Regions from separate parts of the Homo sapiens genome. Here region 2 is linked to region 1. The links are contacts of gene promoters, found by promoter capture Hi-C in blood cells and fetal thymus (Javierre and others, 2016). All regions are on one chromosome and are shown on one strand. The core of a region is centred on a gene start or on the middle of the fragment in contact, and the rest is flanking DNA. Distances in the headings are between cores, read along the strand shown.

Region 1 (2,972 bases), core at 405-2,904:
TGAGTCTACGAGTGCTCCTCTTTAACCAGCAGTCTTTGTGAACAGAGACCCAGTTTTAGAGCCAGTCATTTTTGTAAACAATTTCTATTATTGAGGAGTCCTATGAACAATACAGATACCTATGACCTTAAACACAGACTGCTTTCAACATGCCCCATGTACTCACCTCATCTCTAGGTAAAAATCGAATGAATTTAGGCTGAGATTTCTGATAAACATGGTAGGTTAAGCCTTCATGAGGACAGATGCGTGAATGACAGCAAAGGCAGATCAAGACACGAAGCTACAAGGGAAAGAGTGGGAGGTGACCCGGAGAGCCATGGGGGCTGCAGGAGAACCTCGTGAGCCAGACTCTGGGTGGGTGGGGGGTGCCTGACCTGGGGCCACAGAGGGACAGGGCAGTGGGGAGAAACCAGGTGGTCCTGCAGAGCCCTGCAGATGGCAGGGCTGGAGGCCGCCTCACAGTCCCTCTAAGGAGTTTGTCTCCCCTGTCTCCCCACCAAGTCAGAAGCTCAGGGAAGGAGGCCCTGGGTTGAGCAGCCGAAGCCACAGCCAAGAGTCAGGGTCAGGCCTGTTCCCAAAGTGGCGTGGGGCGAGGGAGTTTGCAGCCTACAGACTGGCCCTCCAGCCCCTTCTTCCGAACTCTGGCTGCCCCTTGGCTGTGTTCATCCCATCTGGGGAAACTGGCCAGACCAGGACAGACTCACAGACGTGCACCTTTGGGGACCCGTCAGTTGGGTGTGTATGACACAGATATGTGCAAACATGTTATATCCCGGAAATTCACTTCCTGTGTCCTTGTCCCAGGCAGCTACCCCCATGAGGGACTAAACCAAGGAGTGAGCCTGGTAGAGAGGGGGAAGGCAGGCTTAGGCCTGGGCAGCCTGTCCTGATTGGAGAAGGAGCCGGGCCTCCGAGGTGCACGTGTGTCACAGAGGGTCACAGATGGGGAGGTGTGTAGGAGGCAGGCGGGAAGAAACGTGGGGCTGCAGTGGGGGCCCAGAAAGAGCTGGCTGTAGAAGTATGTGGTCAGCTGTTTTGTTCATTTATTTCCATATTTGTAGAAGATGAACAGATCTGTCTGCTATGCCGGCAGAAGAGTGGTGTCTGTTTCCACTATCCAACAGGAAAATGTAGACAGAAAACACTAAAAATGTGGAGGTTCCCCCTGGGCAGTGGGATTCCAGATCTTTTTTTCCTTGTGTTTTGTATTTTATAATCTTTCAAAAGTGAGCATGTTTTTAATATACAAGTAATAGAAATTTCTCAGGAAGGATAATGTGTGGACGGATGGAACGCCATCCCTGCCGGTGCTGGTGGAGACTCCGTCCCCCAGGGTCTGACTCCAGCCTCGCTAGTCCCGGCTGACGGCGCCCCAGCCACCCGAGTGGCGCTGGGTTTCTCCTGGAGGACCCACACGAGATGGTCGTGACTTCTCCCACCACAGCCCCTGGGAACACGCCCACTCCTTCCTTGATTTCCCACCTGGCCTATTTGACTCCCTTCATCCACTTTAGGAAAAGGCCTGTCTGTGGAAGCGGCGACCTGGGGCTGATCTCACCACGGGCGTCTTCAAGGAGCCTGTGTCTGTGCTGCAGACCCTCCCATCATTGTCTGCCCCGCCTTCTGTCGGAGGTGGATGTGTTCTAGAATCAGCTTGAATGTGATGTTACCGTTCACAGTGGAAGGCAGAGGAAATTGGCCCTGTTCCTAGAAATGTGCTTTATCAGAGAGTGTGTGTTTTCTTAAGGGATTCTTATAAAACTCACTTCAGTTTCCTTTCTTTCCATATTCTGATGTGAGACATTTAAATAAATGTTCATTTGCTCATTTGCCTTTATAATAGAAATAACCTCTTTCTACTTCACGAGATTTTAAAAATGCCACATGTGCATTGGAACAAGTTAAGCAGTGTGGTGCTGGAAGTGTTAAGATTCCCTCCCCACCACCTCTCCCTTCAACCCTGTAATCTAAGCCAACTGTTTGAAAATTGTGCTTCCTTGTGCTTTTTAGTTTTGGTTAATTGAAAAGAAAATCTCATGCCTGTAAGCTCAGCACTTTGAAGGCAGGAGGATCACTTGAAGCCAGGTGTTTGAGACCAGCCTGGGCAACAAAGCTAGACCCTGCCTCTACAAAAACTGTAAAAATAGTCAGGCGTGGTGGCACACACCTGTAGGCCCAGCTACTCAGGAGGCTGTTGTGGGAGGATCCCTTGAGCCCAGGAGTTCAAAGCTGCAGTGAGCTGTGATTGCACTAATGCACTCCAGCCTGGCGACAGAGCGAGACCCCATCTCTTAAAAAACAAGACCAAAATATGGGACCATAATTTATGCAGCATTATTTTACAACTCGATTTTCATTTTCACTTAATCCAACAATTACTTCATTGTCTATGCTTTTTTATCAGCCACGGTATTAACTTGCATTTTTTAATCATTTCAGTCTTAAAATCCTTGCACGTTTGATGACTGCCAAATTCTTGCATACAGAAATTCGAGAAAAAGGCGGTGCTTATGGTGGAGGCGCAAAACTCAGCCACAATGGGATTTTCACCCTTTACTCTTACAGGTGAGTTTTGCTCTAGTTCACACATTGGGATGCACACGTCGTTTTAGTCTTCTACTCATGATTATCAGTGTCATTTTCTTCTACTGCAGTGAATTTTAGACAAAAGTTGTTCTGTGTGCTTCTTTTCACTCCTTGGGCACTTAGCCACACCCAGCAATGTCCTTTCTGGCGCGAGGATTAGGGCCAGCAGCCGAAACAGGAAGCATTCTGCCTTCAGTAAACCCTGGCTTCAGCCAGCATATTTTGGCAGAACACGGTAGTGCCTCCATCCGTGGGTTTGCCTTCCATGGTTTATTACCCACAGTCCCCCTCGGTCTGAAAATATTAAATGGAAAATTCCAGACATAAACACTTCCTAAGTTTTAAATTGTACACCATTCTTCTAAGCAGTGGGATGAAAGCTG
Region 2 (3,035 bases), core at 92-2,591, 2.1 Mb after region 1:
TTGCCACGATTTTCCCAACAGCATGTGTTCACTTCACGTCTCTGTGACACACGCTGGTAATTCTTGCAATATTTCAAACTTTTTCTTTTTTTTTTTTTAATTTCTTTTTGCCAGCACCTTGACCTTGGATTTTTGCATTATTATTATGTCTGTTAATAGTGACCTGTGATCTCTGATGCTACCATTGTCATTTTGGGGAGAGGCACAAACCACACCCACATAAGACCACAAACTTACTCAATAAATGTTGTGGGAGTTATGACTGCTCCACCAACCAGCCTTTCTCTCATCTCTCCCTCTGCTCAGGCCTCTCTACTCCGAGACAAAACAATACTAAAATTAGGCCAATTCATAACCCTACAATGGCCTCTAAGTATTCCAATGCAAGGAAGAGTTGCACATTGCTCCCTTTAAATCAAAAGCTAGAAATGATTAAGCTTAGTGAGGAAGGCAAGTCAAAAGCTGAGACAGGCTGAAAGCTGGGCATCTTGCACCAAACAGCCAACTTCTGAATGCAAAGGAAAAGTTCTCGAAGGAAAGTAAGAGCACTATTCCAGTGAACACACAAATGACAAGAACGCCGATACACAGGAAGTTTGAGTGGTGGGGACTGATTAAACCAGCCACAACATTCCCTTTAGCTGCAGCCTAATTCAGAGCAGGGCCCTGACTCTCAATTCCCTGAGGGCTGTGAGAGGTGAGGGAGCTGCGGAAGAAAAGCTGGAAGCTGGCAGAGAGTTGTTTATGAGGTTTAAGACACCGTCTCCACAACATAAAAGTACAAGGTGAAACAGCAAGTGCTGATGGAGAAGCTGCAGCAAGTTCTCCAGAAGATCCAGCTGAGCTCATTGGTGAAGATGGTTACTCTAAACAACAGGTTTTGAATGCAAACAAACAGCCTTATATTGGAAGAATATGCTGTCTAGTACTTTCCTAGCTAGAAAGGAGACATCCATGCCTTCGAAACTTCAAGGGACAGGCTGACTCTTGTTAGGGGCGAATGCGGCTGGTGACTTTCAGCTGAAGTCAATGCTCACTTGCCATTTCAAAAATCCCAGGGCCCTTAAGAATTACGCTACATCTCCTCTACCTGTCCTCCATAAATGGAACAACAAAGCATGGATGACAGTACATCTGATGACAGCATTGTTGACTGAGTATTTTAAGCCTACCATTAAGACCTACACCTATCATAATACAACTGGCTCATTGACAACGCACCTGCTCACCTAAGAGCTCTGATGGAGATGTACAAGATGAATGCTGATTTCATGCCTACTAACACAACATCCATTCTGTAGCCCAGGGATCAAGGAGTCATTTCGATTTTCAAGTCTTAAGTTTTTAACCTATGCACATATATTTAATTTTTTTAACGTTTCTGAAGAGGAAATTTGAAGGAGGAAACAGAATACAGCACTCGTTCCTGTAACAGCGTTTTGCTCTACATTTGAGCACCAATCACACACACGCCAGGCACTGCTAGAAAACTGCAGGTGACACTGTGGCACCCCAGCCAGTCTGTGGGATGCCAGGGGAGGAAGACAGGTAAGAAGGCAGCACGGAGGAGGGGGTCTAACACGGGAAAGGCGCCAGCCTGTCTACACACTAAGGGGAAATGTCCAGGGCAAGAAAGAGAAGACACTGTGACAGCAGGAATGGCCAAAGGAGAGGAGGTCCTGGGAAAGGGGAGGGGAAGGCTCCACAGCTCATCAGGGCCCTGTGGACGGGCAGACAGGCGCTCAGAGCCACGGGCCCCACCCACACCTGTCCCTCTGTGCACACAGGCGATGCCACCTCTCAGCCTGGCAGCGTGGAGGTGTGAGGGAGGGCGAGTGAGCAAGTGAAGAGGGCACTGCGGGGGAAGGAACCACACAGCACGTGCGAGAGGAAACAGAAACAAAGTCTGGTCAGGAAACTGGTACACACACAGCTCTAAGTGAAAAGGCAGAAAAGAGCTACGTGAACAGCGTTAACTAACTACATGGACAGCGTTAACTACGTGGACAGCATTCACTCCGTGGACAGCATTAACTACGGGCACGCAAGCACATTCATGGAGTATCCTTTATTGAATACATCCAAGTTATCACTACATCAAAAGTAAACCTCTAAAACAGATATGTATTTTGTGAAAAATAACGCACACATTTCAGTTACAAAATTTCCTACATATGGGTTATATACAATATTAAATAAAATGCAGACTAACATGATATGTACATTGTTTAGGGAGTTAAGCTTTTCCCTGTTATTGAGCCCATACAAGCTCAAGACAGAGTTATCCCAGTCTCTGAACAGACCACACTGTCCCCTGACAACCGAAACAGTAAGGCTTCCTACACAGTAGCAGCTGGCTTTATCATGCACGATTTTAAAAACACACTGGAGAAGGCAACGGCCTCTGGCTACGGCACTCCTTAGGCAGTGCTTACCTGAGCCCACGTGGCCTGCGTACTTGACTAGGCACTTCCCTGTCTCTATGCTCCACAGCAAAGCCGTGTGATCTGCAAGATGGAAATGAAGAAGTCGGAACTTAGCTATCATCAGTTTATAGTTTTTCAAATGAAAGAATAAGACAAATACTCTAAAAATGGGAAATTACACGACCACTGATATCTCTTCCACCTTTGATTCTATTACTCTGTATGCTTCAATTGATCAAAGAAAACATTTCCCAAATGGGAGAAGCTGTGACCTGTCTGAGGCCATGAAGTCAGCTAACGGACAACCAGAGACTCGATTTCCTACTTTACTATCAGGCTGGCTGCATCATGCTGGAAAATGACAGACAGAGGTCGTTCCCATCACAGTTTCATTATTTTATTAAAGTATTAAAATGTTCCAGAACATCTCCCAGAGTTCAAATTCAAACAGCATCCAAATCCAGTTACAACTGTTGAGATAAGCATGTCTTTGGATCTTTGGGTCTTTCTCTTATAGCCATTATTTTTTTAAGTAGATTTAATGGGAAAATCTGAGAAATAAGCACCAATTAGCCAAATGAAATTTCGGAAATATCAGAAAGGACCTTT

Evidence for each region. The method cuts DNA at HindIII sites, captures the fragments that hold promoters and counts their contacts. A CHiCAGO score of 5 or more calls a contact.
Region 2: a fragment that was not itself captured here is called in contact with the fragment with the promoter of PITRM1-AS1 in region 1 in 2 of 17 cell types (M2 macrophages and megakaryocytes); the score reaches 5.7 in M2 macrophages.

What each region holds. Positions count from the first base shown.
Region 1 is chr10:3,140,283-3,143,254 of GRCh38, reverse strand. It overlaps PITRM1-AS1 (PITRM1 antisense RNA 1), which reads right to left and starts at 1,654. Exons shown (of 4, transcript NR_038284.1): 1 at 1,486-1,654; 2 at 167-283. PITRM1 (pitrilysin metallopeptidase 1) reads left to right here. Exons shown (of 27, transcript NM_014889.4): 24 at 2,443-2,568. RefSeq lists enhancers at 913-1,412, 1,413-1,914. The HindIII fragment of the contact is 14,067 bases long and covers 1-2,972 here.
Region 2 is chr10:1,085,758-1,088,792 of GRCh38, reverse strand. It overlaps WDR37 (WD repeat domain 37), which reads right to left. Exons shown (of 14, transcript NM_014023.4): 7 at 2,436-2,507. Among named protein-coding and RNA genes, the nearest start is that of WDR37, 31 kb to the right of the region's middle. The HindIII fragment of the contact is 1,804 bases long and covers 440-2,243 here.